Regions from separate parts of the Homo sapiens genome. Here all the other regions are linked to region 1. Evidence: promoter capture Hi-C in 16 types of primary human blood cells and fetal thymus (Javierre and others, 2016). All regions are on one chromosome and are shown on one strand. The core of a region is centred on a gene start or on the middle of the fragment in contact, and the rest is flanking DNA. Distances in the headings are between cores, read along the strand shown.

The links. The method cuts DNA at HindIII sites, captures the fragments that hold promoters and counts their contacts. A CHiCAGO score of 5 or more calls a contact.
Region 2: a fragment that was not itself captured here is called in contact with the fragment with the promoter of PDCD10 in region 1 in 2 of 17 cell types (non-activated CD4 T cells and total CD8 T cells); the score reaches 7.3 in non-activated CD4 T cells.
Region 3: a contact is called between a fragment that was not itself captured here and the fragment with the promoter of PDCD10 in region 1, in 2 of 17 cell types (non-activated CD4 T cells and neutrophils). The highest score is 7.1, in non-activated CD4 T cells.
Region 4: a fragment that was not itself captured here is called in contact with the fragment with the promoter of PDCD10 in region 1 in 1 of 17 cell types (non-activated CD4 T cells); the score reaches 7.1 in non-activated CD4 T cells.
Region 5: a contact is called between a fragment that was not itself captured here and the fragment with the promoter of PDCD10 in region 1, in 2 of 17 cell types (activated CD4 T cells and naive CD8 T cells). The highest score is 8.0, in activated CD4 T cells.
Region 6: a fragment that was not itself captured here is called in contact with the fragment with the promoter of PDCD10 in region 1 in 2 of 17 cell types (non-activated CD4 T cells and neutrophils); the score reaches 6.6 in non-activated CD4 T cells.
Region 7: a contact is called between a fragment that was not itself captured here and the fragment with the promoter of PDCD10 in region 1, in 1 of 17 cell types (naive CD8 T cells). The highest score is 5.9, in naive CD8 T cells.

The regions. Positions count from the first base shown.
Region 1 is chr3:167,732,375-167,736,688 of GRCh38, forward strand. PDCD10 (programmed cell death 10) reads right to left here and starts at 2,518. Exons shown (of 9, transcript NM_007217.4): 1 at 2,288-2,518; 2 at 1,840-1,976. It overlaps SERPINI1 (serpin family I member 1), which reads left to right and starts at 3,347. Exons shown (of 9, transcript NM_001122752.2): 1 at 3,347-3,449. RefSeq lists a silencer at 2,150-2,279 and an enhancer at 2,330-2,769. The HindIII fragment of the contact is 6,113 bases long and covers 1-3,622 here.
Region 2 is chr3:170,368,990-170,373,303 of GRCh38, forward strand. The region is part of intron 2 of SKIL (SKI like proto-oncogene); the gene reads left to right. Among named protein-coding and RNA genes, the nearest start is that of SKIL, 13 kb to the left of the region's middle. The HindIII fragment of the contact is 192 bases long and covers 1,735-1,926 here.
Region 3 is chr3:170,346,242-170,350,555 of GRCh38, forward strand. No RefSeq gene overlaps it. Among named protein-coding and RNA genes, the nearest start is that of SKIL, 9.3 kb to the right of the region's middle. The HindIII fragment of the contact is 2,988 bases long and covers 264-3,251 here.
Region 4 is chr3:170,223,284-170,227,597 of GRCh38, forward strand. All of the region lies in intron 1 of PRKCI (protein kinase C iota), which reads left to right. Among named protein-coding and RNA genes, the nearest start is that of PRKCI, 3.0 kb to the left of the region's middle. The HindIII fragment of the contact is 629 bases long and covers 1,920-2,548 here.
Region 5 is chr3:170,170,238-170,174,551 of GRCh38, forward strand. PHC3 (polyhomeotic homolog 3) reads right to left here. Exons shown (of 15, transcript NM_024947.4): 3 at 2,320-2,475; 4 at 1,136-1,213. Among named protein-coding and RNA genes, the nearest start is that of PHC3, 9.3 kb to the right of the region's middle. The HindIII fragment of the contact is 1,241 bases long and covers 1,355-2,595 here.
Region 6 is chr3:169,975,008-169,979,321 of GRCh38, forward strand. It overlaps SEC62 (SEC62 preprotein translocation factor), which reads left to right. Exons shown (of 8, transcript NM_003262.4): 2 at 601-709; 3 at 1,939-2,044. Among named protein-coding and RNA genes, the nearest start is that of SEC62, 10 kb to the left of the region's middle. The HindIII fragment of the contact is 776 bases long and covers 2,000-2,775 here.
Region 7 is chr3:169,954,986-169,959,299 of GRCh38, forward strand. It overlaps the pseudogene FHL1P1. Among named protein-coding and RNA genes, the nearest start is that of SEC62, 9.7 kb to the right of the region's middle. RefSeq lists an enhancer at 1-47. The HindIII fragment of the contact is 4,378 bases long and covers 1-4,049 here.

The DNA.
Region 1 (4,314 bases), core at 1,268-3,767:
AAATAATGTCCAAAAGCTGACATAAGGCTCCTGCAAAGTTCAAAATGAGAAGAAATGCAGACACTGGTGAGCTGCAAACCACGTGTACACATAACTCTGTGAACTCCTAATTATCCAACGTGCAGAGATCTAAAGTGACAACAGTACCGCAGCATGTGACTGAAAGATGATAACAACAATACAAACATTAATCCACCATCCGAATAGAAGAAATATCAAAACTATAATTGGCCTCAGAGATAAAGAGTAGTGGCAGAAATGAACCAAGAACAAAATCTAAAACACACTGAACAAATGCATTACATTAACTAATTTCCAAAATTTCCTCATAGTTCAAAAGCTCTTTCCATAATGACAGAGTTACATGCCAAAGGTTAGAACTTATTTCATACCTCCTTCAACAAAAGGCAAATACCTACATTGTCATCTAGAAAACAGATTAATATTCTTGCTTTACCATCACTGACTCATGTTCAGTTTACGGTCTACTTACATCACTGCACCTTTCTTAATCCAGCACAAAGTCAGTTATCACCACATAATTTTCCATTTGTTTAACTGGGTCTTCCTTGTCTGTGTACTACATTACTTATGGTACATTATTCCTGATTTTACTTCATTCTATAGTATCATACTTTTTCTATTTTAAAAATCGTATTAATTTCCAGACCATCTTAATTTCAACCATCAGGGAAGATAATACCTCTGTTCCGAAAAAATGTTTTTCCATTAAAAAGTGAAGCACATTGTTGATAATATAGTAACTGCAGAGTACATTCAAAATTCAGCATAGTCTGATGATCAACTTATATATAAAACAGTAAGCTATGATTTATTACATGTTAAGAGTAAGCCATGATTTATTACATGCTAACCTGTATGGATATAAAGTTATCACAAATAAATTCTGCCATCAATGAACATACTCTAACAATTCTATTAAAAACTTATCCAATAATAATAGTCATGAGCTATAACTGGTCATAATCATTATAGAGGATAAGACTTGCATAAAGGCACTACTTTCTGCAAGATATGAACTATACGTGTACTGTTTTTTCATTCTTCAATGTAAAGTAAGAATGAATTGAAAGTCACAGTTGATGCTAAGAAAAATAAAAATATGCAAGAGCCCAATTTTATTATTTGCAGACACACACACAAATACAGCCCAGAGTCAAGAAAATGGGGGAAAAGTAAAGTCTCAAAAAAGACGATGTTACCTCCAAGAAATGCAAAATACCTTCTTTTCTAGTAATGGGCACACTAAACTCTCCTAACGCTACATTATTTGAAAAAAGTGTAGTTTTGTGAAAGAATTCCAATCCCACTATTATCAGTTTTACAAAATGAGAGTAAAAACAGTCCTAAGGTAGAAAAAGAAAAGAATATTCTTCTAAGGATGGGATATATTGTTTAACTGTTGTTCTCCCATCCTATTACCTACCCGTAAAAATGAACTGTGAGAGTAGAGTCTATCATTTAATACACCCCTAAAAAAAGGGGAAAAATCTGTAAAAGTTGAAACTGGCCATTTTTATTTTTTCCAAAAGGATCTTTCCTTTATTGAGGAATTTCACTCCGGTTCAAGAAACAACTTTTTATCTCACAATGGCTTCTTAGATATACTATATAAAATACATTTACTTTGTAACTTCCTCCACCCTTTTCAAAAAGCACAACCAACGTCCCTACTCTAAAGCTGGACTCGAACCGAACTAGATTCAGAAAGTCTGTCCCTACGTGTGTGACCTTGGGCACGTCATATAATCCCTCGGTTTCCTCATCAGCATCCCAAAATGAAAGCGCTCTGAAAGCAGTAAAGGAGTAAAAACATACCTTAGGTATGACACCTAAGAGGGTCAAGTCTTTCTGTTTAAGGCAAAATTATCTCCTTAGAGGGCCACATCATTAAACTGGAACTGAATCCGTAGACCCCAACATTTGTCTCTTCCTTCTTCCAGTGCTCCTCTTCCCTCAAAGGGCATAACCCGAGTCACCCCCAAGAGCCGACTCCCAAGCACCCTTTCCTTCCTCCTCCCTTTTCTCTTACTTACAAAGCAGGGGGAAAACAGCAGCCTCACCTCTCGGTCCGAAGCCACACCTTCAAAGGACCCCACCCCAGGCACATCCGCCCTGTCCCCTCTCCCGGGGCACCAGGGGCCAACCTCGCCCTTCCCCTCCCGCCCCCACCTAGAGGAGACTTCCTGGAGGCGTTCGGGCCCAAGCCGGCAGGCGGCATTTACAAACCCGCTTTACGCCACTCGCGTAGGGTAACCTCGCTTACGCCCGTAGGGCCCCGCTCTCAGCCCCGTCCGCTCCGCCTGCCAGAACCAAGCCCAAGTGCCTCAGCCATGGCCCCTGCGTGACCCTAGACCTCTTCTGCTCGGTGCAGAGCTACGGGGACTGGGACAGAACAGCTACACCTTACCAGCAACTGAGGCACTGACTTCACTTCCCACCTTGCAGCCCTCTTCAACTCCCGGATCAATTCACTCCGGCGACGCCGGAAGGACCCAAGAGGAACCAGGCGTTGTCCGGAATCCTGCCCAGCCGGAGTCGTGCAGAGGCTTATGGGGACTCGTAGTCCCGCTCGCCGGCGTTGTCCGCAATTCCTGCAATCGGAAGACTACACTTCCCGGCAGGCCATGCGGGGGATCCTGAGGCGATGGGTGGTGACACTTCTAGCCAATAGTAGGAGAATTCCCTGCCTTTGCGGGAGGAGGTGAGATGAAGAGAGATGGTGCACGGAAAGGAGAGGAAGGGCGGGGCAAGCCCTCACCTGCGCCAATCAGGGTGCGGAGTAGGCCCCGCAGGCGCCTCACCCATTGAGGGGGCGGGCTGACAGAGCAGAGGAAGGAAGGGGGTGAGGGGCCTGTGGTGGGGATCCTGGGGCTGTCGGGCTGAGTATGCCGTGTGGGTGGAGAGGAAGCCTCGGGGAAATCGCCCAGGTGAAGGGAGGGCTTGGTGTGGGGACTTGCACTGGGCAGAGGGGCAGCTTCCCTGAGAGCAGCTAAGCCCCAGGCACACCGGGCATCCGGACACACAGGTCGGGGAAGGATAGGCTGAGCCGGGGCTCCCAGCAGAGACGCCTGGGTGGGGCAGGAGGCCGCTCCAGGTGTGAGCCACAGAGGAGGGGAGAGGGACCCCCACGGGAGTGGAAGTGGCAGAGCAGCTGCAGAAGTGCAGGGAGCGGAAAGGTACCAGGGCAGCTGCTTTCCGCTGCCTCCGGTCCGGGCAGCTGCAGAAACAGCAGGGGGAGGAGCAACAGCTGCCAAATTCGCCAACTAGAGGAGGGAGAGGCGGAGCTTGGGTCCCTGTAGAAGCCAGAGGCGCAGTCTGGACTGTAGTTTCCCGGGAGAGACGAAAGCAGGAACGAGAGCGGAGCGGAGCACAGTCCGCCGAGCACAAGCTCCAGCATCCCGTCAGGGGTTGCAGGTGTGTGGGAGGTAAGCGTGGGTCCTTCTTCGGGGCGTCTGCACTGCCCTGGAGAAAACGTCTTCCAATAGGAATTACATCAAGACACAGCTAAAAGAGTCCGCGTTGGGTTAGGAAACCGGTGCAAAACCTCTCGGGTGAAAGATTTACATTTTTCGACTTTAAGGGCAAAAAAGCAAAAGGAAGCTTGACTCTGGGTATAAAGGGCGTGGTTAGTGTTTTTGGTTTGAGTTGCACCAGTAAAACTGTTCTGGGAGATCTGAAGATTGAGAAAAATCCTGCTAATTGAGGACGAGGTGGATGTTATCTGGTGGATGTTATAGGTGCGTAGCCTATAAAAAGCAAAAATTTTGCTATTGATATAGAATAACTTCTGAACTATTTCACTAGGAAAATAACTTTGCATTCTTCTTCAGTGTCTACCCTTTACGTTGGTTTATCAGATTGTCCTGCTACCGACCTGTTATCCAGGGTGGTTATTTTGCAGTTTCCTAGAATTGCAAGAAATCCGTATTAAAGAAGCAAGTGCAGGCAGGAATAGTCAGGATAGGATGGGCTCTGACTTAATCTATCAAAAGTATAACTTTTGCCAGCAATAATGTAAAAATGAATTTTAATGAATGGATAGTTAGCTTTCTTCCCAGTGGCTCTGGAATATTGGAACAAAGACCTGGATTCAGCCTACAATGGAAACATATGGTGTACCTCACTGCTGCTCGTTAGTTTCTCATTTGTGTCCGATAATATGTGTACATTTTAAAAACGAGTACATGGAAAGCTGTGTGGGAATCTTTTCTCTGGGTAGAGAGTATGTGCTGAAGGACTACCCTTAATATGTGTTATGATAGTGGGTTCAGTTTAAAACACATGTAGTGT
Region 2 (4,314 bases), core at 581-3,080, 2.6 Mb after region 1:
ACAAAACGACTTTTATAATAACTTCAGAGTAATCAAGTTTTTGGAGCTCATTCTGTTAATAACAGGATATGTGGACCCTCCCTATCCCTGGCATTTTTTTTTTTTTTTTTTTTTTTTGAAATCTGTAGAGTGGCTTTGCAAATAGTGCCCCCTGTGGTTTAGGAAATAGAGCCTCTTTATTTTTATTATTAAAAAATAGAATTGTTAGCATATGATTTTTGAAAGTTAGAAATTTATCCTTTTTGTTTGAGAAATGGGAAAAAACTTAGAAACTTTAAAGAAGAAAAACAAAAAAGAGATGGCCGTGTTTTCAGAGTAGGCCTGGATCATCATAGTCAGCCAGTAGTTTTCTCGTAGCAGTGCATATGTTATCAATTATGCCACTGGGAAACCAAAGAAGTAATCAAGAATTGGGCTAATTTTTTTTTTGATAAGGAGTTTTGCTCTTGTAGCTCAGGCTGGAGTGCAATAAGGCAATCTCGGCTCACTGCAACCTCCGCCTCCTGGGTTCAAGTGATTCTCATGCCTCAGCCTCCCTAGTAGCTGGAATTACAGTCATGTGCCACCATAGCTGGCTAATTTTTGTATTTTTTGTAGAGATGTGGTTTCACCATATTGGTCAGGCTGATCTCGAACTCCGTACCTCAGGTGATCTGCCTGTCTCAGCCTCCCAAAGTGCTGGGATTACAGGCGTGAGCCACCGCACCCAGCGAATTGGGCTAATTTTAATCCCTTTAGAATTCTGGGAGTGGAAAGTGATTGTCGAGCTAGAATTCAGTTTGTTCCTAGTAAAGGGGTAGAACTTGTTTGAGAATAGCTTTGGTAATAGCTTGAATCTGTATTTTGTTCACATATAGAATTTTATTCTACTGGGATTCATATTACATAAAATAAGGATTTTATTAGACTCTAGAAAGCAAAAGAATATATAAACAATGCATCTTGTTGTAAGATGTGATTTGCTTCCGGCTGCGCGCGGTGGCTCACGCCTGTAGTCCCAGCACTTTTGGGAGGCTGAGACGGGCGGATCATGAGGTCAGGAGATCGAGACCATCCTGGCTAACATGGTGAAACCCCGTCTCTACTAAAAATACAAAAAATTAGCCGGGCGCGGTGGCAGGCGCCTGTAGTCCCAGCTACTCGGGAGGCTGAGGCAGGAGAATGGCGTAAACCCGGGAGGCGGAGCTTGCAGTGAGCCGAGATCGCGCCACTGCACTCCAGCCTGGGAGACAGAGTGAGACTCCGTCTCAAAAAAATAAAATAAAATAAAATGTGGTTTGCTTCAATCACTAACTCATTATATTAGGCAGAAAGAATGAATAGGAAAGATATAAAATTAGTTTGAGTCCTTTTGATTTCATGACTTCTAGACTTAAGAGTGGATCATAGAAATATGTAATATTTCTATATATACATATATATGTATATATACAGAGAGAGAGAGAGAGAGCCCCCCCCCCCCCCCCGAGCAGGAGTTCATCTTATAGTCTTACAGTCTTCTTATATCTTACAGTCTTCGAATCTAGAATGTGGTAGATGCCTAATAAAGGTTTGGATAACAGTGAAGTCTAAGTGGCCCTATAAAGTTACCAGTGATTCTCGAAGAGGGAAACAGGTTTAGTTTTAAAACAAACCAGCATTTCGTTTTTATTTGTGATGTTGAATTTATTCTGAGATTTCAAATGGCATTAAAAGTACATATTTTGCATTTTTTATGGGAACAAGGAATTAAAAAGCTTAAGAAACTTACTAAAAGTTTGGGTAACATAGTTTGACCCTGTCTTTACAAAAGATTGAAAAAAACAATTAGCTGGGCTTGGTGGGGCATGCCTGTAGTCCCAACTACTTGTGGGGCTGAGATGGGAGTATCGCTTGAGTTGGGGAGGTTGAGACCGCAGTGAGCTGTGATGGCACCTCTGCACTCCAAGCTTGGGCAACAGAGCAAGACCCTGTTTTTCTCAAAAAAAACAAGACAAAACAAAACTTAATAAAAATGATTTAAGACTTCTATGCTTTTTATAGTCTATGTTAAATTTTTTTGTGTGATTATGAAAACAATATAGGCCCATTGTAGTAAATACTAAAAAAGTACAAAGAAGAAAACACAATTTCCTCATAATTGCACCATGTGATAACTGCCTCTGGAATTTATTCATTTGCGTATGTAATTGTAACTGTGTTTGTGCAAAAGCATTTCTAGAGTGCATAAGTATTAATAAAGGAGTAGTAGGCCTGGTGCGGTGGCTAACGCCTGTAATCCCAGCACTTTGGGAGGCCAAGGCAGACAGATGATTTGAGGTCAGGAGTTCGAGACCAGCCTGGCCAACATGGTGAAACCCCATCTCTACTAAAAATAATAATAAAAAAAATAGCTGGGCATGGTGGCACACGCCTGTAATTAGAGCTACTTGGGAGGCTGAGGCAGGAGAATTGCTTGAATCCAGGAATCGGAGGTTGCAATGAGCGGAGATCGTGCTACTGCACTCCAGCCTGGGCAACAGAGTGAGACTCTGTCTCAAAAAAAGAAAAAGAAAAACAAAAGGAGTAGTTACTGGAATAATACTTTTGGACCAATTTTAAGACAGTTCATTTAGAGCAGTGTTTTTCTAACTGCAATTTGTCATTCATGTAGCCATCTCAAGCAGGGTTCCATAAGGGGAGATTTAAGCACTACAGAAAATGAATTGAGTGCTGGTTTTGTCATTTCTCCCAGTGATCGTACTGGTACCATTCTAAATGCACTGGAGAGAAGGTAATTCATTACATACAATGGATGCCTTGGGGCATTTTAAATTCTCCTGAGAACCTCAATTGAAAACCGCCAGGAGGGTCATGAAATCAATTTAGTGGGTCACCAGCATTAAAAAACATAAAAACCTGAAGTAGAATAAAATGGAAAATAGAGGACATTGCACATAGGAAGATTAATCAATCTCTGTTTTGAAATTGCCAGTTTACATTATTTGAAGGCCAGAATAATCCAGGACTGTAAATTGTTAAGCATATATGCTAAAATGAGATAGAAAAGTAAAGCCTTAGAATTATACAGATTAAAATTTTTGACAAATAGTGGAAAATAATGTGTATGACACTGAGATTTCCATGTAGTTGCAGTATTAAGTTTATTGGGCATCACAGACCTTCAGTATAAAATGTCACAGGATTAACAGGATTTTTATCAGTGTATTTTTCTTCAAGTTCTAAAGGGGATGTTATATTACCAACTTTACATGGCTTTGTTTCCATTAAGGACTCAAAATAATAGTTGCAAAATATTACAAGAACTCGAGCCTTTGCATTTTCTGTGAGCATTTTTAAGTATCTCAAACCTAAAATTGGCTTTGTGAGGTAGGTGGTATGATCTTTCAGCCTGTGGAAACAGCTGCCATTGCTGTGACTCCTGACGATCTGTTTTTGATCAGTTAGTGCAGATGCTTAGATCATACTGTCCCAGTTTTGCATTAATTTGATCAATTCTATTGATTACAGAGAAGTGAGGCCCAAGACTAAGCCTTGAAATCTCTAAGTAGCTATTTGCTACCTTGTAACACTGTTCTGTTTCATTTATTGAAACACTAACTCACAACATGTTGGAAATATTAAGGAAACCTGATAGTGTACTGAGGGATTCTGTTTCTTTTGGTAAGAGTTGTTGGCAGCTATCTGGTAGGGTGTCTTTATACTTCTGAAATCATTTATTGACCACTTGAATGTCTTAGTATTATACACAGCAAAAAGACCCTGATGAGATATATTCACTTCCTGTGTATCCAGTCATATGTTTAGTAAGGTTGCTAATGATTTATTTTGGGTCAGAACAAAGTAATGTGCATTTCATATGCATTATATTTTATTTCTTGTGTAAATAGGCCATTAGGGAGATAGACTATTAAATTTACCAACCTACACTACTGCTTCTGTCTTATGAACACAAATTTAAAAATTAATCTTTATCACTTATAGCACTTTAAAAATTCTGTTTTTAGAAATAATTTTCAATTTTTTTTTTTTTTTTTGAGACGGAGTCTCACTCTGTCGCCCAGGCTGGAGTTCAGTGGCGTGATCTCGGCTCACAGCAACCTCGACAACCTCCACATCCCAGGTTCAAGCGATTCTCTTGTTGCAGCCCCCTCGGTAGCTGGGACTACAGGCGTGCACCACCAGGCCCGGCTAATTTTTTTATTTATTTTTATTTTTTAGATAGTCTTGCTATGTCGCCCAGGCTGGAGTACAGTGGTGTGATCTCGGCTCACTACACCCTCCACCTCCTGGGTTCAAGCGATTCTTCTGCCTCAGCCTCCTAAGTAGCTGGGA
Region 3 (4,314 bases), core at 508-3,007, 2.6 Mb after region 1:
AAATAAATAAATAAAAAATAATAATCATTAAATAAAGGTATTATATAGAGCTTTATTTGAGAAACTGGTTTATCTAAAAATTGACAAAGTGGTTGATGGAACTTCAGGGTAGTAATTTCACATTTACATTAACCTTTAATGAGACCATGTGGTTTCTTTAAAATCTATATTACCTGTGCAAAAGAAACCTATTCATTAGAAATCCAGTCTCTGATTTTGGCAACAGAGCCAATATTTATTTCCCACAGAGGCCAATTCTAGTAAGCTTTAAATCCAGGATAGTTAACTTCGTGAGAATAGTATCAACACTTATTTCCCCTGCTGTCAATTGAAAGAATATGTTGACCACCTACCGTAACTAATTTAACTGGGAAGTGGTTGAAACATTAATGAATAAAACAACAGTGTTGTTAACATTTTTTTCTGGAAAATAACTTTAATACATTAGGCATATTTGCAAATAATCATTTTACTGCCTGAGGTTTTAATATATAACTTAATATATAACTCATTTATAAGGGAAAATGCATAAATTCCACTTGGCTAACTAACTCCGTCTTTTCCTGTTAAATTATAAAAAGAGAAAGTCTAATTGGCCTAATTAATCAGTATTAACCCTCTGGGCTGGGCTTTTTGGGTCAGGCTAAGTCTAGGTTTTTGGTTAGACTATGGTTCTGGTCCCTGCTCCTGACTCATTCAGCAACCATCCTTTGCTCAGAGAATACCCTAAGGCCAGAGTAAGTGAGTGAGATGGTTTCTGTTAGAAGAGGATGGAGGAGTTGCATGCATCATGATTGAAATAATTCAATTAGAAAGTTTCTAATTTTTTGTTATGGTAAATGCCGTTGATGCACATATTTGTTATACATCTTTTAGCATTTTTTCCACTCTCTTTGTTAGGATACATTTCTTGGAATAATTGTTGAGTCAAAGGATTTGAAATTTTTTTTTTTTTTTGAGACGGAGTCTCACTGTGTCACCCAGGCTGGAGTGCAGTGGCATGATCTCGGCTCACTGCAACCTCCACCTCCCGGATTCACCGATTCTCCTGCCTCAGCCTCCCCAGTAGCTGGGACTACAGGCATCCGCCACCATGCCCGGCTAATTTTTTGTATTTTTAGTAGAGACCGGGTTTCACCATGTTTCGATCTCCTGACCTCGTGATCTGCTCGCCTCGGCCTCCCAAAGTGCTGGGATTACAGGCGTGAGCCACGGCGCCCGGCCTGACATTTTTTTCTTTTTCTTCTTTTCTTTTCTTTTTTTTTTTTTTTTTGAGATAGGGTCTTGCTCTGTCACCCAGGCTGGAGTGCAGTGGTGCCATCTTGGACCATTGCAACCTCTGTCTCCCAGGCTCAGGCAATCCTCCCACCTCAGCCTCTGAGTAGCTGGGACCACAGGTGTGCAGCACTATGCTAGGCTATTTTTTTGTATTTTTAGTAGAGACGGGGTCTTGCCATGTTGCCCAGAGAGAGAGAGAGAGAGAGAGAGAAACAGAGAGAGAATTCCAGAGTGCTCCTTTTACTTAATTATGCCAATTTTGCTAAAGAGCATTTAAAAAACTACTTTCAAGGTGGTGGAGCAGCGGGCCTATCTTGGACAGTCGGGCCTGTTCCTTCTCTTAGGAAAGTCTGCATTACACTTTTGTCCTGCCTGCCTGAGTGGCCAATCTGAGTGACCCTGCTGCCACCATTGTCCCTTGGTCACCCTTTGGGTAGGGGAACTGTTCCCTCTACTTTTTCTGTATACTTCCCTTCACTTGGTATAGAGCATCTTAAACTTGAGAGGACAGAGAAGCACTTGGGAGCTTGCTTAATAGAGATTAAAGGAAGAAAGCCGGGCACAGTGGCTCAGGCCTGTAATCCCAGCACTTTGGGAGGCGGAGGTGGGCGGGTCACCCTGAAGTCAGGAGTTCAAGACCAGCTTGGCCAACATGGCGAAACCCCGTCTCTACTAAAAATACAAAAATTAGCCAGCCATGGTGGTGCGCGTCTACAATTCCAACTACTTGGGAGGCTGAGGCAGAAGAATTGCTAGTACCTAGGAGGTGGAGGTTGCAGTGAGCCAAGATCGAGCCATTGCATTACAGCCTGTGTGATGGAGTGAAACTGTCTCAAAAAAAAAAAAAGGGTTAAAGGAGGAAGATTCCTGCATTCTGATCCCTAATATTCTAATTTGGTAGTTCTAGGGCCCAAGAACCCATATTTTTAACAGGCTCCTTAGATGATTCTGGTGCAGGCACTTGGCAAATCCCACTTTCAGAAAAATTGCTCTGGTGCTTTGATGGGTACTTTTTGGGTAGTAAGAAGTCAACATGAGGCTGGGCACGGTGGCTTACACCTGTAATCCTAGCACTTTGGGAGGCTGAGGTGGGCAGATCACTAGGTCAGGAGATTGAGGCCATCCTGGCTAACATGGTGAAACCCCGTCTCTACTAAATATACAAAAAATTAGCCGGGCGTGATGGCATGTGCCTGTAGTCCCAGCTACTTGGGAGGCTGAGGTGGGAGAATCTCTTGAATCTGAGAGTTGGAGGTTGCAGTAAGCCAAGATCGCGCCACTGCACTCCAGCCTGAACGATAGAGCAAGACTCTGTCTCAAAAAAAAAAAAAAAAAAAAAAAAAAAAGGAGAAGTCAAGATGAAAAGTTTCCTATTTAAAAACACTGGTTGTGCTACTCTTCATTTCAGTAAGTCAGTTCTGGGTCTCATCAAACAACTTTCTTATGGGGATATTCAATTCTGAAGTGCCCAGTAGTACTTCCTAGGTAAGAATGCTGCTGGCCCTCTCATTTTCCTGCTATCATCCTTTAGATTAACCCATCTGTCTCATAGTCTTCCGTATCTAACCCCTCTGGTTCTCTGTTCTTATTAGGCCATGGCAGAATCCATTAAGGATCTCCACAGTTTCTCCTGATCCTACTTAGAAAATAATATTTTGAAGATATGTTCCTGGAACAGGTCAGGGAGTTGGTAGGGAGGTCATCTTGCTGTCTGCCAGAGACCTGGCCAGACCAAGGTTATCTGGGTTAATTAGAACCTGGCTCTTTGCCTTGAAGGTTCAGATACCCGATTTTGTCAACAAACAAGATTGATCTGGTCTGTGATGAGCAGACTCATCTTAACTAAACGTACAGCATTGGAAGCACACAACCAACATGCCATACATGGGTTTACAGTTAGAAAAGGAACTGGAGCATTTACACTGGCACAGAACTCCAGGTGCAAATGGTTTGAGTGCCCCATTATAATCACAAGCTTATTTCATGGGTAAAAAATCAGCTGGGTGCAGTGGCTCACACCTGTAATGCCAGTACTTTGGGAGGCTGAGGTGGGTGGATCACCTGACATCAGGAATTTGAGACCAGCCTGACCAACATGGAGAAAAACCATCTCTACTAAAAAAATACAAAATTAGCCAGGCGTGGTGGTGCATCCCTGTAATCCCAGCTACTCGGGAGGCTGAGGCAGGAGAATTGCTTGAACCCAGGAGGTGGAGGTTGCGGGGAGCCGAGACTGTGCCCTTGCGCTCCAGCCTGGGCAACAAGAGCGAAACTCCATCTCAAAAAAAAAAAAAAAAATTCAGAATAAGGGAAGGTAAACACCTGATTTACTTTCTGAATACATTGAGGCTGATTCTTTAATCTCCACAACTGAGATAATTTTGTAACCCTGCTGACGAATTATGCCTTTTGAAGGATACATTTATTTTGATTTGTTAATGCATCCAGTCAAATTTTACTCTGAACAGAGAATCATTTTCTCTCTTTAAAGTGACTTTGCCTCTGTCTGCTTCCTTTCCTCTTTCTTTCCTTCCCATTTTTGTTTCTTTCGTTTTGTTTGTTTTACAGGTAATTCTCAGAGAGCCAACTTAATATCCTTTTTTTCCTCAAGTTATTGCATAGAGTGGGAGGTAGGGACATAGATTGCAATTACTGGTTCAGGTACTTCACAGTTGTCCCCTAGTGTTTCTGCAGTACTCACTTCCAGTTTTCTTTTGATTTTCACCTTGCTCACGCTTGTAATCCCAGCGCTTTGGAAGGCAGAGGCGGATGGATCACTTGAGGTCAGGAGTTTGAGACAACCCTGACCAACATGGTGAAAAATTACCAAAAATTAGCTGGGCATGGTGGCATGCACCTATAGTCCCAGCTACTCAGGAGGCTGAGGCAGGAGAATTCCTTGAATCTGGGAGGCGGAGGTTGCAGTTAGCCAAGATCTCGCCACTGCACTCCAGCCTGGGTGACAGAGTGAGACCCTGTCTCAAAAAACAAACAAAAAAGAGAAAAAAGAAAAGAAAAAGAAAAAACCCTAAGAAA
Region 4 (4,314 bases), core at 984-3,483, 2.5 Mb after region 1:
TGCCAGTATATTAGACATAGGGGTTGTATTTAAGAATCAAGTCGATGCGTTTTCAGGGACGTGCAGTGGGTACTTACGTGTCGTCAAGATTAAGTTGCATGTGTGTAAATCAAAATTTTGTGAGCCTTTCTTTCTCAGTGTTGTTTCAACGACTACCCGATAGGGTGAGATACTGCAAGGTGAGGAGACTAGCCTAGTTACAGTTTTAAATTCTCTGATCTTCACTCCCTTACTATGGTTACAAGAAAAAACCCAGTTCTAAGTTCATTGTGTTAAATCATTTTCTATCAGTGACGCAAAGTGCCCCCCTTCCTTTAAATTCAGTTGTGGTTTGAATTTTTTTTTGAGATAATTATGTTTAGGAGCATTAGAAACGTGAAATGTTAGTGTGACCATAAAGGTTGGAGACTGAGAAGTCACAGAAAACCCAGCTACTTTGGCTTGCCTTACTGCTTGTCCAGGTAGAAGTAAATTGCTTTAAAAAACTCAAGCAGTGCTAGGTTGAAATTTTAATGCATACTTTTACATTCCTGAGAGGATCAGTGAAGATAGCAAACTCTCAAACTACCTCTCTTGTTTTGATTTCAAAGAAAATCTGAGCCCCTAAATGTTGTATTGATTTGATGTAAGGACTTTTTTTTTTATTATTATACTTTAAGTTTTAGGGTACATGTGCACAATGTGCAGGTTAGTTACATGTGTATACATGTGCCATACTGGTGTGCTGCACCCATTAACTCGTCATTTACATTAGGTATATCTCCTAATGGTATCCCTCCCCCCTCCCCCCACCCCACAACAGTCCCCAGGGTGTGATGTTCCCCTTCCTGTGTCCATGTGTTCTCATTGTTCAATTCCCATCTGTGAGTGAGAACATGCGGTGTTTGGTTTTTTGTCCTTGATGTAAGGACTTTTAAATTTGCTGCCATGAAGCCTCTGGCCTCTGTTTATTATTAGCTTGACTGTATGCAGGAGTAGTTTATTGGAGTTATATTGGACAGTATGATAACTTTGTGTTTAAGCAGGTAAAACTGATTAAGGAGGTTTTTATTTTAAATCAGTACCAAGAAACGTGTGGATATTTTTTAAAGTTTGTAGTTGTCACAAGAGCTGTTTTGACTTGAGGATGGTCAGCCATGAACTTTGCAAGGTGAGAAAAAAGCTTCCTTTGCTTTTTTTTTTTTAAACCCTTACCTGTAATTTGATGAATGAGATGTTTCACTTTATTCTTTTATTTTATTTTTGTTTGTTTGTTTTTGAGACAGGGTCTTACTCTGTTACCCATGCTGGAGTGCAGTGGCACAATCTCGGCTCACTGCATTCTCCGCCTCCCGGGTTCAAGCAATTCGCCTGCCTCAGCCTTCTGAGTAGCTGGGATTACAGGCATGTGCCACCACACCCGGCTAATTTTTGTATTTTTAGTAGAGACGGGGTTTCACCATATTGGCCAGGCATGTCTTGAACTCCTGGCCTCAAATGATGCGCTCGTCTTGGCTTCCCAAATTGCTGGGATTACAGGCATGAGCCACTGCGCCTGGCCCTAAGGCTTTCAATAAATTCTTATTAATTGAGATCATCTTCTCCAATGAGTCTATGAAAGGTAAGAAATTAGTGCTTCTATTTTCCCATTTGTATTAGTTTGACACATGTAAATAGGCCCAGTTAGTAAATGAAAATCATTGTAAACTCCTTTGAGAAGAAATCAAAGTCTTGCTGTACTTCATGAATTTAGATAGCAAATTATCTTGGCTTATTGCTCCAGTTATTAAAAAGAAGAGAATAAGGACATACAGCTTCTTTAGTGTTTGACTGCAATTTTTCCAAGACATTCAAGGTAACATTGTCTTTTAAAATCTGTGAAATTTTGCTGCGGCGCAAATAACCTCTTGCCCATTGTATACTGGTCTTTGCTCAATGAAAGCTTTCTAATGGTACCTTCATTTCAAGCCTCATTTAAAGACAATATCAGCACTCTAAATTGTACCAAATTCCTGTCCTCTGAAATTAGATGTTAAGATTATGTGTTTGTATAGTCTAAACTGATGATTGTGGTATTACATAGTCAGCTGCTCATTAATATAGATGAAGCTAAAATGAGTCACGGACAAGGATAGTTAATAAACAGGTTGGCTAACTAGAACACCTACCTGATTTTAAAATAGAAAATCCTTCCTTTATACCAAGAAATGTGAGAACATTCTGCATTTGAAAAAGTTTTCTTTTCTCTCCAATCTTCTGAAGGGCCATTATTACATAGCATTTCCTCTATCCCTCTACACTTTTCTTTTCTTTTTTTTTTTTTTAAATAGAGACAAGGTCTCACCGTGTTGCCCAGGCTAATCCCAAACTCCTGGGCTCAAGTGATCCTCCTGCCTCAGCCTCTCAAAGTGCTGGGATTACAGGTGTGAGCCACTGTACCTGGCTCCACTACCCTTTTCTAACAATATTTCTTTCCAGTGAATGTTGACTCATTTAATAGCCAGCATTTTTTTTAGTGAAAAAATTGCCCTCTCTTTTCAAAGATGTGTATAGTGTTATTATTCTGTTAAGCTTGATCTCAGTGAAAACGTGTAATCTCTCTAGATCTAATAACATTTAATTTTTTTCTAATTTTTATTTTATTTTATTTTATTTATTTATTTTTTTGGAGATGGAGTCTCGCTCTGTCACCTGGGCTGGAGTGCAGTGGCGTGATCTCGGCTCATTGCAACCTCCGCCTCCCAGGTTCAAGGGATTCTCCTGCGGCTGCCTCCCGAGTAGGTGGGACTACAGGCGCCCACCACCACGCCCAGCTAATTTTTGTATTTTAGTAGAGACGGGTTTTCACCATGTTGGCCAGGTTGGTCTCCCAACTTCTGACCTCAAGTGATCCACCCACCTCGGTCTCCCAAAGTGTTGGGATTACAGGAATGAGCCATCTTGCCCAGCCAATTTACATCTAGTTTTTAAGCAAGAGATTAATAGCACTGAAAATTCAATTTTATTGGACACCACATCTTACTTAGATGCCTTTCTCATGGCCTGCACCCGTCTTTTCCTAGCAAGGAAGCTTTTCAGTGAGGGGCCTTCAGTTATTACCTAGTGCTAGTAGTTTGGAGGAAGAGAAACAGGTTTCATTAATTAGTGATAAACTGTCAATGTATGTGCTTATCCTTATATAAAATTACTTGCTATTATGGGATAGACTTTAACAAGGCAACATCTGGACTGCTCATTTCTTTACATTATATATGTATGGAAATTTTTGCAGAAAGCTTGTGAAAGTTCTTTTTAAACCGCTGCTGTCAAGTAGTAATAACAATACAGAGGATTCCTTCTGTGCACATCTAGAAATAAAAGATTAACTCTTTGCATATTTGGAATAGCTGCTTCAGTGAAGAAGTATGTAGGATTTTTCTTACTGTGAACAAGTCTTGGCAAGACTTGTTTTTGAAAGAAATGCAAGATTATTTTAGCAATATACTTTAGTAATGGTTCTGAGGAAATACAAGTGGTATCTTGAGGGTTGGGGGGATGTTAGCTAATTGGTCTTAGAGCTTCAGCCATGGCACCTAATCCTAGGGCAGCTGATCCATAGCTTGGCCAAAGAGAGAAAAAAATAGAGCATGCTAGCCTGGTGCCAAAAAACCCAAACCAAACACAAAAAACCCTCAGAAATTTGAATGAGAAAATATGGAGATAAAATTGGTCAGCACTGGGAACTGAAGCTGGAGTTGGAGGGAGAGTCTGGCGAGGCCAGAACTGACAATGTGCAAATGAAAGATGTGAAGAAGCAGAAACTGAGGAAGCAAAGGAGAAAGGAGCAACTCTGCACAGAAAAATTCTCCCCACAGGTCCTTAGTTCATGATGGCTTTCTAATGCAACTGCAGCCCTCCTTTTACAACTTTAGTGTCTGTTTTTTTTATGATTGAAATGAGCCTAATTTAAACATAGATTTTAAAAATTCCAGTCTTGCTTAAGATTTCAAATATAACCAGAGATCATTCAAACTGAGTTTAGTAAATATTGTTGAACGTCCGTAATCCAGGCACATGATGCTGTCGTAGGCACAGAGAATGTAGAGGTAGGTAAGGCTCTGCCTTTAAGGAATTAAGAGACTTGTGGAGGGAAGGACATATAAGAGTTACAATAGAAACAATTTAATTTGAAGTACCTATGTAAGGTATTTGCAGGAATAGACGTTGGGGAGGAGTTTGGGGTGATGGAAGCCTTCCTAGAGGAAATGTCTGAGGCTTTTAAAGGATAACTAGGAGTTTGCCTGGTGAATAATGATGTTAGGTGGGTGTTATAGGCATTAAACAACCACATGGTAA
Region 5 (4,314 bases), core at 725-3,224, 2.4 Mb after region 1:
AAGTATTACCATTCTGGACCAGGAAAAAATATCTAGAAAGGACATTATTAGGTTCTCAACTACAGGCAGTTTGCCCCCCACCAGGAAACACCTATAGTTGTCACACTAGAGGAAGGAGAAAGACCACAAGCTGCCGGCATCTAGTAGCCAGGGATGCTGCTAAACATCCTATAAATTACACGATAGCCCCTGACAACAAAGAATTATCTGGCTCATAATGTCCATAGTGATGAGGTTGGGAAACCTGAGACAAATGATGAAATGTGAAAATGAACTGCACTGTATCAATGTTATATTTCCTGAATTTAGTAATTTTTCTGTGGCTTCAAAAAACAATAGCCTTGTTCTTAGGAAATACACATCAAAGTATTTAGGAATAAAGGAACATATCTCAACTTACAAATGACTCAGAAAAAAATATGTATACATGTAGTGGAAAAGAATGAATGATAAAGTAATGGGGCAATATGCAATAATTGATTAATCTGAGTAGAGTAGATACAGAAATTTTTTTATTATTATTGCAGTTTAAAATTATACCAAAATTAAAAGCTAAACAAGTATTACCATGCCCATAAATTTATTTTACCTGGGAAACTTGGCACAATTTCCCAATATATATGTGCAATATAGCGAATCAGCTTTCTTTTACTCCTTTCTCAAAATAAATTACCCTATCTTGAATGGATACTTGCAAATTGAACCCAAATAACTCATGTAAGCTGAAAGTATAATTTCTAAAATGTGAATTGCACAAAGTTAGAAATGCTTAGATGTCTACCAAGGACATGACATACTATTGTATATCACAGTAAATTCATGGCCAATATCCCTGCATTGTATATTTTAGGCTTTCAATACACACAGAAAGCTGAAACCACATAAGATCTGAACATGATCAGTGCAAATGGATATACAAGAAATAATACAAAAAGATTTTTTTAAGACTCAGATTTTCATAAGTTTAACATTAGTTCTGAATTCTTGAATTTTATCATTTCTATTTCTGGGCAATTGTTACTTTAAACAGCATGCAACAAATTATAATAACAGCTTCATAAATAACAACAGTTTACTTTTGGAAAACAATTCTTTAAAATTTTAAATCCAGGAAAAAAAAATTTAGGGAACTTACAGACGTTTGGGACATACTTGACTGCTGTGTGACACTTCCTGTGGGAGATGTAGATGGTCTTCCACTGGACAAACTTGCCTAAAATAGTAAGACTTTTAGAATATGTCGGTAAAAACCTGAAGTTAAGAACTTTCTGGTACCATGATAACACAAAACCACAACAATAAATGTCAAAAGGCCTATGTATGAAACAACTAATTTTATAGTCAACATGGCTTAAGCTTCGGTTAAACAGATTTTTTAAATAAGGAAAAGCTGAATGGTGAAAACAGGGGATCCAAAGACTAATCTTATTTTATTAGCTACTTTATTGTCAGTTTCACTTTATGGGTCTCTGTCATCTTTAAAGTGGAATCACTACTCCAGAGTTATGAAAAAGAAATTAGAGCTACAGCAAGAGCCAGTGAGTGGGTTTCAGTTTCCTAACTTGTATCACAAACATGTTATTTAAAAATTACACTACTAAGAAGCAACAGCTGAGAATCTGTTGGTAACAGAAATAAACCTTTTTCAGGTTCAGTCAATTGAGATCCTCCTCTGGTGAGGGGATTTAAGATTAAATCTTACACAGCTTTATTTAAATAGTACAATAGTAACAAAAATCTTTTTTAAAAACAAGCATTTAATAATGAAATCCTGTTATCAGTAGGAATAATATGATTGGATTTTAGAAAAATGGATATACCTATCTTTGTATAAAAAATTTCTGGAGAAATATGTATTAGATTGTTACTGTGGCCACCTTTGAAGAACGGGAAACAGTGATAGACAGGGAAAAGGAACAGCTTTACTTTATCTCTTATAAACAACTTAATATTGTTTGATTTTTTAATGAGTATAATTACTTATATAATTTTTTTAATCTTATTTTTAGTAAAAATACAATTTATGTAAGCCTAAGTACTCACTGTTGTACCTAGAACTTTATACACATAAACTAGCATAGCATTTCTTCAATCTGGATAAAAAGCACTGAGACAAAAGCTAGAAACAGAGTAACATAAAAAAACATATCCCCTTTTTCTCAATTAACTTCTATTCGGCAACCTATTAATATATTTCCTCCGGGAAAAATAACCACAGGACATCTGAGAACTCTGAAATAATACCCAATCTATTTATTTTCAGTAACTACCTACAGATAACAGAAACTTTGATCTCATAAACTCTTATTTTAGTCTTACCTGAACAGCAGCAAGGCTCTGAAGCTGGGAGCTGCTTAAATGCTGCTGCTGAAGAGCTGCAGTATGCAGCATCAAGTGCTGTTGTTGGGCTGCATACATTTGCTGAAGGTACTGAGCAGCTGAGCTGGGGGGCCGATGCAATGCCTGTTGAATTACCTGTGATAAGTCAATTGAACCAATGTCAAACCATAATCTCAACCTTTATCTTAATCAGAAAATCAAAGTATAAAAAAGTGGCAGTTTAAAATTTCACTGCTTTAATACATAATATCATCAAGCTTATTAACATTATTTCTTTCCTAGTTACATATCACTAGAAATCACTAACTTGTACACATTAAAACTACCCAGTGGGCCGGGCACGGTGGCTCACGCCTGTTAATTCCAGCACTTTGGGAGGCCGAGGTGGGCGGATCACAAGGTCAGGAGATCAAGACCATCCTGGCTAACATGGTGAAACCCCGTCTCTACTAAAAACACAAAAAATTAGCCAGGCATGGTGGCACATGCCTGTAGCCCCAGCTACTCGGGAGGCTGAGGCAGGAGAATCGCTTGAACCTGTGAGGTGAAGGCTGCAGTTGAGCCAAGATCATGCCACTGCACTCCAGCCTGGGCGACACAGCAAGACTCCCATCTCAAAAAAAAAAAAACAAAACAAAACCCAGTGGACAATTCGCAAAAGACAGGCCAGGCCAACTAAGCATTTCAAAAGATTTTCAATCTCACCAGTAGTCAAAAACTTACAAATTAAAACAAGATACTGTTTTCCAACTTTCAGATGGATAAAGATTTAAAAGAATACTACTACTACCTGGGGAAACCAATACTCCCATATTGCTAGTAAAAATTCAAGTTGGCATAACCTTTTTGGATAAAACTTCGTAGAATTCAGGGCTTGGGTGTGGAGAGAAATACCTTTACCATGCAACCATAACAAATAGTAATGTAGATCAGTGCTGTCCTATACAGTAACAACTAGTCACATGTGCCTACTGAGCACTTAAAATGTGGTTAGTGCAACTAAAGAATTGAGTTAATTTTAAATTGAATTTTAATTAATTTTAATTTTAATGTAAACAGCCACAAGTAACTACTGGCCACTATAGTGTACATTGCTGATACCGATCTATATTTACTAACAAAAAGAAAATCAGTGGGTTACAAAATAGTATATAGAGTAAGATACCATTTTTATATTAAAATATTTGAAAGAATCCACAGGAAAACTTTCAAAGACCACTGATGGGTAGCTAGATTAGAGGTGATTTTTAGCTTCTACTTCATACTCTTCTATAGATGTCTGAAAATCTTACAATGAGCAGGTATTATTAATAATCATATAAAATTACAAAGCAGCTGGGCAGGTTGGCTCATGCCTGTGATCCCACCACTTTGGGAGGCCAAGGCAGGCAGGTCACCTGAGGTCAGGAGTTCAAGACTAGCCTGGCCAACATAGTGAAACCCTGTCTCTACTAAAAATACAAAACTTGGCCAGGCATGGTGGCATGCACCTGTAATCCCAGATACTCAGGAGGCTCAGGTGGGAGAACTGCTTGAACCCAGGAGGTGGAGGCTGCAGTGACCAGAGATCATGCCACTGCACTCCAGCCTAGACGACAGAGCAAGACCCCATCTCAAAAAAATAATAATAATAAAATAAAAATAAAAAATAAAATTATAAAGCTATTTCTTCTTTAGAAAATTACTCAATAATTTAAAAAATTTTTAAATGTCAAATACCTTGTTTTGCTTCAACATTGAATAAAACTATTCTTACTTAATTCCTTAAAAAGTGTTAATTACTGTGAATATTTGTTAGTAAAATGTAAAATCTGAGCCTGAAACTTCATAAATAAATATAGAAAAGTCAAGTACTCTACTAAAATCAGAGAAAATTCTTACATTTCTCCAAAAGGTTAAGTCAGAATAAGTCAATCCTATACAACCAAATCCGAAAGTCACATTGTGCTCACTGTGACTCTGAAACAGCACAGA
Region 6 (4,314 bases), core at 1,138-3,637, 2.2 Mb after region 1:
CGATGGCTCACGCCTGTAATCCCAGCACTTTGGGAGGCCTAGGCTGGCGGATCACTTGAGGTCAGGAGTTCAAGACCACCCTAGCCAACGTGGCGAAACCCTGTCTCTACTAAAAATACAAAAATTAGCTGGGCATGGTGGCAGGCACCTGTAATACCAGCTACTTGGGAGGCTGAGGCAGGAGAGTCACTTGAACTCAGGAGGCAGAGGTTGCAGTGAGCCGAGATCGCACCACTGCACTCTAGCCTAGGCAACAGAGTGAGACTCCATCTCAAAAAAAAAAAAAAAAAAGACCGTATAAGAATGAAAGTGAACTGGTACAAAGTAGTTACCATTGTGGAAAAAACAACTCAAATGCCTCATAGTTGAAGCCAAGAAGCAGACAGGCTTTGCCTCTATCAACTTATATTTGAAAAACGTAGTTTCTTTAAATCTCCATTTTTGTCTTTTGAATACTTTATTAGGTCGCTCCAGAGAAAGCTTGAAAGCAAGGCCTGTACTCCACTTGAAAAGATTCATAAAATAGATTTGTAAATTATTATTCAGCGCATGAATTTCTCAAGTATATGATTATACTAAATTAATATTCATATGTTGCAGGAAGTTGGTGAACCATCTAAAGAAGAGAAGGCTGTGGCCAAGTATCTTCGATTCAACTGTCCAACAAAGTCCACCAATATGATGGGTCACCGGGTTGATTATTTTATTGGTAGGATTATATCAGTAAAATCGTATTAGTGTACATATGTTATGAAGTTAACCTACATTTGGGATATGTAGAAGTTTTAAAAGTGCTTTCCAAATGTGATTGTTCTGGTGATGGACATATGGCAGTTGATTATTCTGTTCTTTTCTTTTATGATTGAAAATGTCTATAATAAAAAGATAACATGTTTTCTAATAACAATTGTTGGAAATTTTTTTAAATAGGATTTATTTTCAGTGTTTTAAAATACTACCTTTTGTTTAGATAGTATGCGTACTTGGAACTAAGAGCACTGGCTTTTTTTCCCCAAACAATGTCATTATAAGCTGATGTCATTTATAACACCAGAGCTTATAAGTAGGGGTTGAGTTTGCCTTTCTCATCAATTAAAAGTGAATTGCAGCTGGGTGTCGTGGCTCACACCTATAGTACCAACACTTTGGGAAGCCAAGGCAGGAGGGTTGCTTGAGGCCAGGAGTTCGAGACCAGCCTATGCAACACAATGAGACCCCATCTCTACAAAAAAATTAGATGAGTATGATGGCATGCGCCTCTGAAGTGAGAGGATGGCTTGAGCCCAGGAGTTAGAGGCTGCAGTTAACTATGATCCCACCACTGTACTCCAGCCTGGGTGACAGAGCAAGAACCTGTCTCTTAGAAGAAAAAAAAAACTAAATTGCCAGTGTAGAGGAAAAGTCCTTTATCGTCTCTTTCTTTACTGTTTTTAATGATTTGACATTCATTACAAGTTTTAAAAAGTAGATGTGCTAATCTCTTCAGATATAATATGTTTAGCTGTTTCTTGTGACAGCAGTGGATTGTTGACAGAGCTTCTTCCTCAGTGTATTAGAGTAAAACTTGATGAGAATTTTTATTACTTGCAGGGAGTGGTGAACATTTTGGTTTATCTACATATGCTTGTGATTAATAAGAGTGATAGTTACATACAGATATTTTAAATTTTTGAATATTTCCCCATTAATTTAACTTGCTTTAGTTGGTCTTTCTGAATGCCATTATTTCCCAACATTACTTTTAAAAGATACTTAATATAGTTCACAAGTTGAGGTTTTGGGGAACTACTAATCATGATCATGTTAGATTTAGTTTTCTGTTGAGTTTGGTTTTCTTTTTTGTTGCCAGAGTGTTGAAATTTTACTTTATAAAATATTATTTAGATAGACATAAATCCCCATGTATGCTAAATTTAAAATAATGAATTTCTTCTTTAGCTTCAAAAGCAGTGGACTGTCTTTTGGATTCAAAGTGGGCAAAGGCCAAGAAAGGAGAGGAAGCTTTATTTACAACCAGGGAGTCTGTGGTTGACTACTGCAACAGGTACTGTTTATTTCTTAGTGAAGAATAACATAATAATTTTAAATTTTCTTCATAGTCCTGAAGCTCCTTACATCATTAAATGTAGTGATACTACAACATAACTCAAATACTGTTTTCACATGTAACCTGATTTCTTTGGTACCTCTGGAAATGTGTTTGGTATTAGACTATTATACTTTTAACTGTATATAATTTTTATTTATGTTCTATTTTATATATTTGTGAGCCCTACTGAAGGGTCAGCAACAAAAGTCATATACCAGTGCCTACAGTAGAAAAGAAAGTTTTTTCTTTTGTAGAGCAAATTGGTTGAGGAGTCTTTTTTTCAAAACTTTTGCAGGAATTCCTATTAGCTGTGTTACCGCTACTTTTTTAGTGCCTGCACCCTGAGCCATAAGCCTCATACCCTTTCCTATTTGGTTCAGTGTTTGCTAATGTAGTATTTCTTCTAAAATCAAGGAAGCTGCAACATCTACCTTATCTTTTTCTGAGAATTTCAAGATGAAATACAGCTAATTCAGTAATATACATATATTTTTCATAATAGATACTTTTTCTGTTTTGAAAAAACTTTTGATGTTAAGTGGTTTACCTAAAAGACAAAATCACCTTCCTTTTGGAAGGAAGTATGCTGGTTTTTCTTTCCATTTCTTTTCTTTTTTTTCTTGGTTTACTTAATACTAAGCATTTTCTTAATATATGTTAACTAAATTTTGTTTTCATAACACTAAAGCTTATCTTTTGGGATTTTAGATTATTTTATGTGTACTAATATTTTATTTAATGGCACCTAAAGTATCAGCCACATAAGAACCCTCTTAAAAACCACTATTTCACAACCTGGTTTCTTAAGCTGTCAAGTTAAAGAATTATTGAATATTTCTTAAAATTCTTAGTTGCCAAAGACTAGAGGTTACTAACAGACCTTTTAGAAACAGTAGGTTTCGGCCAGGCACAGTGGCTCATGCCCGTAATCCCAGCACTTTGGGAGGCCGAGGCAGGTGGATCACAAGGTCAGGAGATCGAGACCATTCTGGCTAACAAGGTGAAACCCCATCTCTACTAAAAATACAAAAAATTAGCCAGGTGTGGTGGCGGGCACCTATAGTCCCAGCTACTCGGGAGGCTGAGGCAGGAGAATGGCGTGAACCCGGGAGGCGGAGCTTGCAGTGAGCCGAGGTTGCGCCACTGCACTCCAGCCTGGGCGACAGAGTGAGACATTGTTGAGACAAGGATGAGCTAACACTCATGCAGTTGATATTTGCTTGTCTTTTGTAGCAACTTGTCTAGTTAGAATTAGCTCCAGCAAGCATATATCCAGGGCAACTTGAATCTGCTCGTGGGGAAAAAATAAAAAGGTGAATAGAATTAGCTCCACGGTACAAACTTCCAGGCTGGGCACAGTGGTTCACGCCTGTAATCCTGACACTTTGGGAGACCAAGGCAGGGAGATCACATGAGGCCAGGAGTTCAAGACCAGCCTGGCCAACATAGCGAAACCCCATCTCTACTAAAAATACAAAAATTAGCCAGGCGTGGTGGCATGCACCTGTAGTCCCAGCAACTTGGGTGACTGAGACATGAAAATAGCTTCAGCCCGGGAGGTGGAGGTTGCAGTGAGCCGAGATCGCACCACTGCACTCCAACCTGGGTGACAGAGCAAGACTCTGTCTTAAAAACAAACCAAAAAGTACAAACTTCCTTACCTGCCACAAAACTGATGTATTTTTTACATGTTGTGTAAAAATTAAGAGATGCTACAAATGCAGAAACTGGGGCACAGAGAACTTAAGTACTTTATCTAAGGCTACACAGCTAGCAAGTGGCAGATCTAGGGTTCTACATCTAGCAGCCTGTCTCCACAGTCTGTGTTCTTAACTACCGCTCTATACTGTCTCCTCCAACAAAATGACGATGCATTTAATGGAGCTATTAGATCTGTAAGCCCAAATCTCTGAGTAGAGCAGCCAGTATGAATCCACATTTTTTGGCTTTTTAGGAGCCTTGGTACCTTGTTATTTGAAAAGCTCAAAAGACCTGAGTACAGAGAGTGTCCAAAGACACTCGATTTTCATTGTATACGCTCTTCCCACTGATGTCAGATTGTTTGAGTCCTTTCTGCACTAAAATAAATGAGAATAGCATAACTTTAAGGTCTCCAGAGCCACTTCTAATATAACCGTAGAGTCTTATTGGCCAGTTCTCATGAGTTGCTGCCCAATAGCAGACAAAATCACAAAGGGTCTCTTGACCAGTTTCTTTTTTTCTTT
Region 7 (4,314 bases), core at 611-3,110, 2.2 Mb after region 1:
AGTCAGTGGAGACTGGGGAGTAATTTCTGCTTCCACCTTGGCTGGCACAGGAGTCCTCTCATCTTCAGCCACTGTGGCTGCTGCTCTTGCGTCGAATTTTTGTGGTTTTTTTAATTTAAATTTTATAGTTAAAAAAATTAGAGCATATGGTCACATGGCTCAAGAAGATATACTGTGAAAAATTTCTCTTCTGACTTTGTCCTCCTGCCACTAAATCCCCTCCTGCAACAAGCAAAAATGTACATATATTCTTTTTAACCTCTTTTTTTATTGCAAATGTTAACATACTACATTGGAAATTTTTCACCTAAAATACCTAGAGATTATTTCACAACAGTACTTAAAGAGCTTCCTCACTGTTTTAAAATGTTGTATGACATCTCATCATGTATGACTATCATGATTTATTTAACCAGTCTCATTTAGCCAGCTGATAGACTTTTTCAGGCTCTTTCCAAACTTTTTATTATGTATGGCATATACAATTTCATATCGGTACAGGCATATCTGTAGGACACATTCTTGCAAGTGGAATTCTGGGCCAAGGTGCTTATGTAATTAAAATTTTCACAGATGCTGCAAAATTGCATTGTCTGGAGGTTGCACCCATTTACACTCTTCCAGCAATATGAGTGACTCACACTCATACTGGGCTTCAGTTTACTTATGTAGGAACTTAACCTGCTCGAAGTCACTCCAGCCTAATGGTCTCCCAATTTAAAATTGTTTAACATAATATTAATGCCTAAGCCTCAATAGTACCCCCCCTCCTACTTGCTCAACTGCATGTAAGAGATCCAGTTTTTTATTATTATTATAATGAACAGAAATTTATTGGCTCACAGTTCTGGGGGCTGGGAAGTCCAAGGCCAAAGGGCTGTCATCTGGCAAGGGCCTTTTTCTGAGAGATCCAATGTTTAATAGTGTCCCTATTTCTATAAATTTGCTATAGACTTCAGGGATATTACATGTGCCTATGAGCCCGTCATTGTCATTATTTCCCATTCTGGTGAGCTGAACACATCCTCTGTGGCAGGTGGTTCCATAGAAGCATCACTCAGAACTGAAACAACTCCTGAGCCCATGGCTATCCCTGGGTCCTGGTGGAGTGGAAACTCAACAATGCCTAGAGCTACATCTAGTGTCAATGAGCTACAGTCCTGCAGCTGTGCTGGTAAAGCTGGAACTGAAATGTCCTTGAGACTACAGATCCAAACAGTTGACCTTACAAAGTGAAAAGGACAATACCCCATCTGGGTGACACTCAGGTGCAGCAGTACAGGGTCCCACAGTAAGGTTGTGTGGATCTAATGTATTAGACCATTTACTCTCACAGTTCCTTTAATTAATACGCTAAACAACTTTTGCCAAGGATCATACCTACTGCTAGAAGTCTGTGTTGAGGTAAATTCTACAGCAATAATCTAAAATCTCCACCCCATCTGAAGCCCATGCTCTATTTCTGGGTCTAACTTTCCAGGCTGGGCTCCTTCTTCTCTTACAGGGTGCTCCTTCCTCTTATGTCCCACACTGTTCTTTCCAAAACTCGTGCCCTCATGAGGACCACACTAGTCCATCAGACCATGTTTTATATGCTTTCACAGAGTTTCAAGTCTTTTTCTTGGAAAGCTGTGCACCCCTGGCATAAATCGGTGGATGCCAACAGAACCATGGTAGATGGATGTACAAAGGTCACCATGTTGACTCTCACTCACAAATCGCATCTAACTGATACTCTCTAGAGGATCAGGTCAAATTGATAATAAGTAAATGAGTAAATAAACTCTTCCCTACAGTAGTATCACAATAAATGTAGAAGGAATGACAGAAATAGAAAATCACAATTTGGTAAACACCACAGTAATAAATATGTCAGGCAGAGATAATTAATGGATACTAAAATTAATAGACAAAAGTATGATGAAAAACAGAATACTTACATAGTTTCAAAGTATCCCCTCATAAGATGCATATTAATTTCAAAGGAAAGAACAGTAACTTTACAGCAGTGAAACCTGCCAGATCCCATCTTAACTAAGTGATCAAAGTGCCTCATTACCAATGACAAGACACATCAACTACTTTCCTCCTGACAAGACACACTGAGAAGGGTACAATGTCACTTCTATGATATTCTTGACAAAACGTATAACCTGAATTAAATCATTGGGAAATAACAGACAAACATAAATTGAAGAACATTCTGCAAAATAATTGGCCAGTACTCTTCAAAGAGTCAAAGTTATGAAAGAGAAAAACTGAGGAACTGTCCCAGATTAAAGGAGACCAAGGAACCATGAAAACTAAATGCAACTGGTGAGCTTGGACTGGATCCTGAACAGAAAAAGTCCACTAATGGGACAACTGACAAAATCTGAATAAGGTCTGTAGATTACTTAGTAATACTAAGTTCATTTCCTGTTTCAAAAATGGTACTATAGTTACATAATATAATATTTGTAGAAGCTAGGTAAAAAGTATGTGAAAATTCTTCATATTAGTTTTTGCAACTTTCTCAATAAGTCTAAAAGCATTTCAAAAGGACAAGTTGGGAATAATAAAAATAAATTTTAAAAACTAAGACAGCAAAATTCACTTATTACAATATTGGTTTGTAGAGAGTGTAAAGATACATATTAATTACAAAAATTATATTCATGCTTGAATTTAAAACTGGACAAGTAAACTTATCCTTTGATTAGTCAAATGTTGGCTTATTCAGGCATTTCTTAAAAGCACTCTCTAAAATTTCAGCATTTATTTTATTATCAGAAGTTGAAGGTCAGTATAACAATTGTATGTGAAAATATTTCAGTAATCCTGGTTTGCCCTTGCAATAATCTGAAGACATCTCTGCTGGGGACTATTTTATTATGACAATCGAGCACTAAATACACTGACCTTCAGATTGTCAGTTACTGGGTGAAAATGGATAGAAGATTTTCCATTTGGCAGATGAAAAATCAAGACCCCCAAATCCCTTTCCTTAGGAGGTACAGCTTAGGCAAGAAACCTATTATATTTTTTGCTGTTTGCCTAAAATATAGCAATATACCACTTTAAATGTAGTGATTTCATTTACCAGGGGAAGGAAAAAAACTGTATAACCTAGAGGCAATATGTAGAATAAAAAAAAATGATAGAATAATTGGAGCCACAGGAAGCGGAACATTTCTTACATGACACGGAAGATTATAAAGTGTTATCGTTTAGTAGTTTCTTATATAAATACTCAAGGAAAAATAATTGAATAACTAGTAGCCTTAATTTAGGGGTGGACCCATAATTACTACTTATAACAACCTCTGCCAAATTATTTAAATATTTACCTAAAAGGTAAAATATCCAGTCTGTAAGGTTTGCTGGCCTATTGTTCTTTTCATTTCAGAGACATCCACATTATTAAACATCAGCTGGACAACAGCACATGAGTACAAGAGTTGTCAGAAAATCATCTGAGGCCAGTGTAAGAAGGAATAGGTTTGAGGATTTTTTCCCAATCGGCAAGTGAGGTCCAGGTCTGGAAGTCTTAGTTTCCTTGGCCCTCATAACTTCCCTGGATTCTGTGCTGAGTCTTCCTTCTTGACCTTTGCCATCCCACTCCCCTTTCCATCTTCTTTTTTTATTTTCAAGACAGGATCTCTCTATCATCCAGGCTGGAGTGCACTGGCATGATCATAGCTTGAACTCCTAGGCTCAACCAAGATCCTCCCACTTCAACCTCCCAAGTAGCTGGGATTACAGGCATGAACCATCATGCCTGTCCATCTTAATAGATGGGCTTGCACAAGAAACAAAGTCTGGGTATACTAACAACTTATGAGGTTTAGCTGCCTTTACTTGCCCAAGAGGTTTTCATTTTGGAGATTTAGCTTTGCCAAACCCTATACTTCCTCTCAAATTGCTGGATTGGAGATAGGTTGAGAGAGTGGATGTTTACATGTCTCTGTTCTCAGGTAAGTCTACACTTACAAGAAACTGGGCAAATGACTGATTCCCAGAATCTCTCTTCTTGCACAGGGAAGGGCTTCCTCAACCAAATCTAGGGAAGCTTCTTGTCAAATTGGTTGTCTCTAAATTCCACAGAGGACTATATAGAAAATAGAGTCTTTGGGATATGATGAAGACCTCTCAGTAGAATTTTGTCTGCCTCATAAATATCTTTCCCTCACTTACTAAAGCTCCAGAGGACAAAGATTATGCCATTTTCATCATTTATTATTCACTCCATCAACAATTTATTTACTCTGAGCCAGACCCTGGACTAGACATTGAGAACAGAAAACTAAAACATAGTACCTGCCCTTGAAAGGT